Linked DNA regions of Homo sapiens: region 1 is linked to region 2. The links are contacts of gene promoters, found by promoter capture Hi-C in human tissues and cell types (Jung and others, 2019). All regions are on one chromosome and are shown on one strand. The core of a region is centred on a gene start or on the middle of the fragment in contact, and the rest is flanking DNA. Distances in the headings are between cores, read along the strand shown. Region 1 overlaps ABCC8 (ATP binding cassette subfamily C member 8). Region 2 holds the start of KCNJ11 (potassium inwardly rectifying channel subfamily J member 11).

Region 1 (4,369 bases), core at 1,004-3,503, 60 kb before region 2:
TGAAACCCCGTCTCTACTAAAAATACAAAAAAAAATTAGCCAGGCATGGTGGCGGGTGCCTGTAGTCCCAGCTACTCGGGAGGCTGAGGCAGGAGAATGGCGTGAACCCAGGAGGAGGAGCTTGCAGTGAGCCGAGATGGCACCACCGCACTCCAGCCTGGGCGACACAGCAAGACTCTGAAAAAAAAAAAAAGGAAAGAAAGAAGGAAAGGAAAGGAAAGAAAGGAAAGGAAAGGAAGGAAAGAAAGAAAGAAAGGAAAGAGAGAGAGAGAAAGAAAGAAAGAAAGAAAGAAAGAAAGAAAGAAAGAAAGAAAGAAAGAAAGAAAGAAAGAAAGAGAAAGAAAGAAAGAAAAAGAAAAGAAAGGAGTTAGGGAGAAAAAAACCCTTTCTTTCTTTCTTTTGGAGATTTCCGGAAAATGTACCCTTACGGATGAGAGCCTGTGTCTTCATGGGTTAGAGAATAACCACGCTTTGTGCATAAAAAGTTATTAAGCACAATTCCTGAATTATACATAATTACTAGCTGTCAGTCAGTTGTGCATTTCTGTGTATGCTGGTCTTCACTTAATAAGACTTTATTTCACAGATCACTTGGTGTCCCTACTTCACTGAAACTAGGTGATTATCTTTTGAAGTCTCATTTCACATAACCTAGGAGGTATATAGATTTCTTTAAAAATGTCATTGCCATTATTTTAAACCTTACCCATGGTATATATAAACTTACAGAAAGACAGAATAGGTTCATTATTTTAAACCTTGCCCATGGTGTATATTAGCTCACAGAAAGACATAGAATAGGTTCCTGCCTTAAGAAAACCTGACCCACAAAAAAGCCTGGGTTTACACAAAAGAGGAATTAAGGGCGGGGAGCCCACCTTACAACAGAATGAATAATAGAATTTTATCCAAGAGCAGGCATCCTGAGGACATTTAAGACCCGGATGCATTTTTCCTTGTTCAAGAGCACACATCCAAAAATTGCAGTCTTTCTGCGAGTCATGATCACTCTGCACATAAAGCGTTTAGGTTCAGAGCTCGGGGAGGCCATTACCATGGCTGCTCTCTGTCTGCCCTGTGAGGGTCCTTGGGGTGGCTGCACTCTGGGGATGGTGCTGGGGCTGACTGACTCACGCGGTCGTGTAACACATCAGACCTTCCAAAGTCGAACCCTTGTTTTGTTTCAAGGCTCAATTATGACAGGACTTGGTCTCAGAGCAGATCCCCTCCCTAGGCTGGAGAAGGCCACTTTAAAACAGATGGCCTGCCCCACTTCATCATTTTTATGGCTCTGATCTGTGTTCTCCACTGGCCTCTGGTAAATCAAGAATACAAGTGGACATGAAGATCTGCTTTAAAAAATAAAGAACAGACCGGGTGCGGTGGCTCATGCCTGTAATCTCAGCATTTGGAGGCCGAGGTGGATGGATCTCCTGAGGTCAGGAGTTTGAGACCAGCCTGGCCAACATGGCAAAACCCCATCTCTGCTAAAAATATAAAAATTAGCTGGGCATGGTAGGCACGTGCCTATAATTCCAGCTACTCCGGAGGCTGAGGCATGAGAATTGCTTGAACCCGGAAGGTGGAGGCTGCAGTGAGCTGAGATCATGCCACTTCACTCCAGCCTGGGAAGCAGAGCGAGACTCTGTCTCTAAATAAATAAGTAAATGAATTAAATTAAATAAAAATAAAGAACCAATTAAGTCCTGTCTACAGGAAAAGGCCTTACTTGCTGGAGAAGTAGCTTGCTGTGCTGGAGTAGACTAGTAAGTTGGAACGGTGATACAGTACCACCTTACAGAGCTGCTCTAGGGCACCATGGGGACTGTCTGAGAAGCCCCTGGCACACTGTAACAGGTGGCATCTGGTGTGGTGATGATGATGAGAATGATGATGAATGTGAAACACTCTGCTCTCATTTCTAGACCAAGATTTACAATAAAATTATGCACCTGTCCACCTCCAACCTGTCCATGGGAGAAATGACTGCTGGACAGATCTGTAATCTGGTTGCCATCGACACCAATCAGCTCATGTGGTTTTTCTTCTTGTGCCCAAACCTCTGGGCTATGCCAGTACAGGTACTAGATGGGCTGAGGGGAAGGGAGGGGGGCAGCAGGACACACAACCAGAATCTGCTGGTCCATGGCCAGTAACTAGGAGCACACCGTCTTCCACTCCATGCTTGCCTGTACCTTTCACACACTTGGCTATACCACAGGCTGTACCTCTGGGTCCCTCCTGTCCCATACTCTGCAAGCACTGACCATCTCTCTTAATGACCAGAGAAGGCAGTATCATTAAGACTTTAAAAATGGAGCCAACTTTATAAACTATAGAAAAATCAAGCCAGGTTCAGGGGCTCACACCTGTAATCCCAGCACTTTGGGAGGCTGAGGCAGGAAGATTACATGAGCACAGGAGTTCAAGACTGGCCTGGGCAACACAGTGAGACCCCTTCTATGCAGAAAAAAAAAAGAAGAAAGAAAAGAAAAATCGTACATGGAATGCCCACAGATCTTAAAAGCTATGTTGTAGCAAAATATTTAATTACATCAAAAAGTGTTAGTGATGTATTTTTAAGCAAAAAGAGTAAGTTACAAATAGTATATGTTGTATGCTTACTACTAAACTGGAATATATGTTATGTATACATTTGTACAGATTCACACATGAAAAAGAATTGGAAAATCACATAGTGGGATTATAAGTGATTTTTATTTTCTTTATGTGTTTCTAAATTCTCTAATAAGCGTGTATAAGATTTGGAAATCAACAACATGATACTTTTAGCCTAGGCAACAAAGTGAGACCCTGTCTGTACAAAAAATTAGCTGGAAGTGGTGGCTCACAACTATAGCCCCAGCTACTCAGAGGCTGAGGTGGGAAGATTACCTAAAGTCCAGGAGGCAGAGGTTGCAGTGAGCTACAATCACACCACTGCACTCCAGCCTGGGCGATAGAGTGACACCTTGTCTCAAAAACAAACAAAACCTGGTGTTTTTTAGCCAGATGTGGTGGTGCGCCCCTTTAGTCCCAGCTACCTGGGAGTCTGAGATGGAAGGATTGCTTGACCCCAGGAGTTCAAGGCTGCAGTGAGCAATGATCACGCCCCTGCACTTCAGCCTGGACAACAGAGAGACTCCTGTCTCTTAAAAAATAAAAATAAAAACGTTAAAACATGGTATTTTTTTAAAGCAAGACAACCTTTGGTGCTGGCTCAGGAAGAGGTACATTACCCCCCAATAATCAGAGGAGAATCGTCAGCATGATTGATCTGACCTCGGGCTTCATGTGTCCCATCTCCCACCCGGAGCTCTTCCACCACAGAGTCTGATCCTGTCCTATGCCTGGGACTAAATCTTCACCCTGGTGTTCAGGCCAGAAACCGAAATCCCAGACCCATTCCCAGAGGGCGGGAAGGTTCCACCGGGAGAGCTTGATGTAGCAGAAAGTGACTTGGGTGAGACAGGCTGATTCAAATACTTAACCTCTCTGAGCCTTGGTTTCTTTATCTATGAAATGGGGAGGCTGCCCACCCTCTGGAGTTGCTATGGCAATTCAGTTAGATAATGTAAGTAACACAGCAGGCAGAGTGGCCCCCAGAGTCTTCACTTCGTAAATATCAGATCCCTCTACCTTGCACATGTTTGGTATGAGTGAGGTGTTACCAATCCAGAATCCATTGCTTCTTGGGATAAAGATTCCATAAACCTTCATCTCCAGTGATTTGTATTGGTCCTCCTTACTTGTAAAGCTTAGAGTTTAAAAATATTAAAAGAAAAAAAGGGGAGAGGCTCCCACAGGGACACAGCTAGACAAGATGAGATGCAGGGAATCTGATGTTCTTTTTTATGGGAACAGTCATATATGCCATCCCCCATTACCACCTACCCATGCCCAGACTGCCCCCGCTCCATTCTGCCAAGACAGATCAATGACTATAAAAGCTACAAAAGGGCCTGGAGATCTCATCTAGTTTAGTTACCAACCAACCTTTTATGCACAAGACTTTCTAAGCTGGGTGTGGTGGCTCATGCCTGTAGTCTCAGCCACTCAAAAGGCTGAGGTAGGAGGATGGCTTGAGCCCAAGAGTTCGAGTCCAGCCTGGGCAACATAGAGAGACCTCATCTCTAACACAATTTTTTTTTTGAAACATGAAAAATGAAGATTTCTGACCATGCTTCTCTCATTAGTTAACACTTTGGGCTGTGAGGGTCTGATGCAGAGAGACACAGCCTGGGAGGATCCTAACATGTACACAGCATTCAAAAGGCTACAAGACACTTTCTGTTGTGTCCCCTTGAACAAGCAGTTTGTAAGATTTTGTTGGCCAGGCATGGTGGCTCGCTCCTGTAATCCCAGCACT
Region 2 (4,889 bases), core at 2,390-4,889:
ATTCTTGAATTAAAATCTGGATTAACACTATTTCAATTGCAAATGACAGGAACCCAATTCAAAGTAACCTAAGCAGAAACTGAATTTATTGAATATGTGACTGACAAGGCTAAGAGGTATACTACTTCAAGCATGGCTGGACCCAGGTGTTTGACATCCATCTGGGATGTGTCTTCCTTTCTGGGTTCCATTTTCCTCCCCTTTCATTATGACAGATGGCCACTAGCAGGTCCAGCTTACATCCTGCCCCAAGGCAACCCAAGAGGCAAAACAGATACTCCTTCCCAATAGTTCCAGCAAAAGCTTGGGAGCAAATCTCAATGCACCAACTTGGATCACATTCCCATCCCCACCCCACTGTGATCAGAGGGGTGGCATACACTGGCTGGCTAGGCCTGGATCATGTCTCCATCTCCATCCCTCAAGCAGGGGCATTCAGAAGTGGAAAGGTGGTCCTTCAGAGGGAAAGCACAGTGCATGAGTCACAGGTCAGCCAGGTGGTGTCTGGGAGACGCTGGAGCCCAGACACCAGGGAGACTAAAACAGCAGCTGTCCTGACTTCCTCTGCATCACGAAACAAGAGTGCACACCTGCCCTTGGCCAAGAAATGGCAGGTGCTCATTTACATCTCATTTTATGATCATTTGCATATCATCTGCAGTACTGGCTGCACCAAGCCCTGAGGTGCAGACCTAAGAGTCTTGAACCTGCATCCTCTTGGCTGCAAGGGGATCATAGAGGCACAACATAAGAAAAGCCCACCAGTTATCGGAGGCAGGTCCAGTGCAGACCCCTGTGGATGTTCCAGGAGCCAGAGAAGCTCGGAAAGGAAGAGCTCTGTAAAGCCTGGCAGCCTGCCTGGAAAAGACAAAATTTGAGTTAAATATTGTGGGGGATAGGGATTGGTTAGGCAGAAAGTCAGAGAAAGGGTTGGGGTGGCAGGTAGGGACAGCAGGAGCTAAGGAGTGATGGTGGAAGTGTGTTAAGAGTGTTGGTTGATCAGGGAGGTGGGAGAGAGATTACAGCAGTGGGGAGGGCATCATATCAGAGAGCCCTGAATGCCAGAGCAAGGAGTGTGGGCTATGCCCATGGACAAAAAGGGAGAAGGGTTTTGAGCAAGAAAGCGACTTGACAAGTTCAGTATTTGGTGGAGATGACTATAAGCAAGTGCAGGATGGAGCAAAAGGGGAGGCTGAGCCTTTCAGGTGGGAGACTCAGCCTCTCAGAAGGGTGAGCAGCAGGGAGGGAGGTAAGGCCTCAAGGCTGCACCAGGAGGCAGAACCCAGCCTTTCCAGCTCTGAGATTTCCCCAGGGGCCCAGCAGCTTCCTCCACTGTGAGATCTCCCAAGAGCAGAGCCGGGGAACTGAAAGAGGACTCCACAAGCCTACCACTGCTCCAAAGCCACCCCACCTCAACAGATTGAAGGGAAGTAGCAGGGGCAGGGCTGGGCCCACAGTGAGGTGTTGCAGGGATGCCCAAGGTCATCCTGGCCCAAAATCCCTGTATAACATCCCTCATGGCCCACCGACTTGATTTGGGTACCCCACAGATGTGGCTCATCTCTGGTTATTGTTATTAGAACTGACTCTTGCATATGTGAAACCAAAGCCTGCCTCTGTTCCACTTAGTGTCCTGGTTCTACCCTTTGGGCCACAAAAAACTACTAGTTCATCCTCCTTCAAGGCCAGGTGTTTCTGCAATAGTGCCCAAATCCCTGGGGGACTTTCCTTTTCTGATGGCTGGACAGTTGTAGTTGCCTCAGAGATTTCCCCATGTAACCCTGTCTCCTTGAGCTTCCCACTCTGCTCATCTCATTTTACCCTCCCCTTCCTAGACACTGCATCTTTGTTAATATAGCCCATGATCACACCCATCCTTTGTAGCGGTGTTCGCTCTGCCTGCAGGTGGGTAGGGAGAGAAAGGAAAATCCAATATAAAATGCATATCTTGCCCCCACTGTGGCCCACAGCCACACTGCCTTTTCCAGACCCTGTCTCAAGCCCCCACTCCAACAAAATGGCCGCAGATGGTCAGGGGTTCTTCCATAAGGATCTGAGCCACAGACAGCGGTAAAGCCGTTACTGTTCCAACAACAGAGATCTAGCAGGCTTTCCCTCCCAGCTGAGAACCCGGGTCCATGCCACAGGGCAGCCTCAGGCTGATGCCTGAACAGAAACACCACCATGCCGGGACCAAGAGCCTGGGTCCCCCAGTGCCCGAGGCAGCCCTAACACACTGTTCAGGCCTAAATACCACCCATGACCTAACGTGGAAGAAGTCAGGTGACAGGTGTGAGAAAGTGTAAAGCAAGTGGCCTCGGCTCAAACCTTCTTTAAAGTAGGGCCGGAATGGCTGAGAAGATGGAGCCGCCCAGGCTGCCCCACAGCAGTAGCAGGTGTTAAACTGTGCTCCTTTCCTGCCGAGGCCTTTTTTTTTTTTTTTTTTTTTTTTTTTTTTAATGAGAGGGAGTCTGAGCTTCCATCAGATTGTCAAAGGATTCAAGACTAAGATTAAGAGCATCCCCCAAAGAGAAGCAGCTGCAGGTTGAGAAGTCCTCGGACCGCCTAATTTCCGCCAGCCCTGGGATTGGTGGCGCCGCCTCTCAGCGCCTCCTTTCCCGGGGAACCTGCAAACCTGGCGCGGCCGAGAGGCGGATTACTGACCCAAATACGGATGGGGATATTGGGGGAGGGGAGCCAGGGCGACAGGGCGGCGGCCCCAGACTGGGAGGGCGGGTCACAGATCCCTCCCAGCCCCCCACTTTCGTAGAGCGTGGGCAGGAGGAACCTCTGGGTTCCGCGGATCAGAAAAACTCCAAAGGCCGGGTTGTGAGTCCCGGGAGGGGAGGTGGAGGGCGGGGGCGGGGAGGGGCGCGGGAGGGGCGGGGGCTTGCTCCGGCCCCGCCCCCTGCGCTCCGGTGCAGGTCGGGCTCCCCCTGGCGGTCCCCGGCCCCGTTCCTCTCCTCGTGCGCCCCCCTCCCGCCGTCCTAGACCCCTGCCTAGCCCAGGTCGGTCTCCGCGGACCCACGGACGGACAGACAGACGGGAGGACGGCCAGCCGCGAGCGCCCGGGCGGCGGGAGGGGGCGGGGAGGCGACGGCCGTGGCGTGAGGAGCAGGAGCAGGTGCAGCGGCGGCGGCGGGCGGGGCCGGGACCCGGCGCGGAGCGGGAGCCGCGGCGCGGGCGGGCGGCAGGGACCGGGAGGCCGCGACTCGGAGTCAGCCCCGCCGGGTCGCGCGCAGGTCCGGGGAGCCGCGGTTGAGCCGGGTGGGGTGGTGACTCCAGAGAACGCAGGATCCCAAGGAGACAGAGAGGACGAGAGCTGGAGGGGGATCCGGAAAGCGGCGGGGGCGCTCCGGGAGGGGTGGAGTAGGACATAGGGGGCGCACCTGGAGGAGAGACGGGGCGGGGGTGGCCAGGACCTGAGCTGGAGCCTGGGAGCCCGAAGGCCAGACAGGTGAGGCGGGAGACCCGGAGGTGGGGGTGAGGTCCGGTTAGTGGGAGAGATCCGGAGGTGTTAAGTTCTGAGCTGGGCTGGGAAGGCAGGCTGGGCGGGGAGAAGGGCTCTTAGCGGGAGGCCCAGGGGTGGTCAGCTGGTGGGGGAAGCTGGGGGAGGACGCAGGGCCAGGTGGAGAGCCGGCAGGGTTGGGGGCTCCCTAGGCGCCAGGCAGGTGGGCTCAAGGGTGAGGCTGTTTTTTTTGTTTTGTTTTTTGTTTTTGAGACGGAGTCTCGCTCTGTCGCCCAGGCTGGAGTGCAGTGGCGTGATCTTGGCTCACTGCAACCTCCGCCTCTCGGGTTCAAGCGATTCTCCTGCCTCAGCTTCCTGAGTAGCTGGGATTACAGGTGCGCACCACCATGCCCGGCTAACTTTTGTATTTTTAGTAGAGATGGGGTTTCACCATGTTGGTCAGGCTGGTCTCGAACTCCTGACCTAGTGATCTGCCCTCCTCAGCCTCCCAACGTACTGGGATTACAGGCGTGAGCCACCGCGCCCGGCCTGAGGCTGGTATTAAGAAGTGAAGTGGGACCCAGGTGGAGGTAAGGAAGAGTCTGGTGGGGAGTTATCTCAGAAGTGAGGCCAGCACAGGCTGAGTGCAGCCCCAGGGTGAGAAGGTGCCCACCGAGAGGACTCTGCAGTGAGGCCCTAGGCCACGTCCGAGGGGTGCCTCCGATGGGGGAAGCCCCTCCCTGGGGGTCACCGGAGCCATGCTGTCCCGCAAGGGCATCATCCCCGAGGAATACGTGCTGACACGCCTGGCAGAGGACCCTGCCAAGCCCAGGTACCGTGCCCGCCAGCGGAGGGCCCGCTTTGTGTCCAAGAAAGGCAACTGCAACGTGGCCCACAAGAACATCCGGGAGCAGGGCCGCTTCCTGCAGGACGTGTTCACCACGCTGGTGGACCTCAAGTGGCCACACACATTGCTCATCTTCACCATGTCCTTCCTGTGCAGCTGGCTGCTCTTCGCCATGGCCTGGTGGCTCATCGCCTTCGCCCACGGTGACCTGGCCCCCAGCGAGGGCACTGCTGAGCCCTGTGTCACCAGCATCCACTCCTTCTCGTCTGCCTTCCTTTTCTCCATTGAGGTCCAAGTGACTATTGGCTTTGGGGGGCGCATGGTGACTGAGGAGTGCCCACTGGCCATCCTGATCCTCATCGTGCAGAACATCGTGGGGCTCATGATCAACGCCATCATGCTTGGCTGCATCTTCATGAAGACTGCCCAAGCCCACCGCAGGGCTGAGACCCTCATCTTCAGCAAGCATGCGGTGATCGCCCTGCGCCACGGCCGCCTCTGCTTCATGCTACGTGTGGGTGACCTCCGCAAGAGCATGATCATCAGCGCCACCATCCACATGCAGGTGGTACGCAAGACCACCAGCCCCGAGGG

What was found. Contacts are between HindIII fragments. The study calls those that stand out against the background at their distance.
Region 1: a fragment that was not itself captured here is called in contact with the fragment with the promoter of KCNJ11 in region 2 in 1 of the 25 tissues and cell types used here (dorsolateral prefrontal cortex).

The regions. Positions count from the first base shown.
Region 1 is chr11:17,446,228-17,450,596 of GRCh38, reverse strand. It overlaps ABCC8 (ATP binding cassette subfamily C member 8), which reads left to right. Exons shown (of 39, transcript NM_000352.6): 8 at 1,926-2,081. Among named protein-coding and RNA genes, the nearest start is that of ABCC8, 28 kb to the left of the region's middle. The HindIII fragment of the contact is 7,581 bases long and covers 1-4,369 here.
Region 2 is chr11:17,387,409-17,392,297 of GRCh38, reverse strand. KCNJ11 (potassium inwardly rectifying channel subfamily J member 11) reads left to right here and starts at 3,639. Exons shown (of 1, transcript NM_000525.4): 1 at 3,639-4,889. The coding sequence starts at 4,207. RefSeq lists silencers at 2,559-2,658, 2,739-3,248 and an enhancer at 4,457-4,889. The HindIII fragment of the contact is 21,135 bases long and covers 1-4,889 here.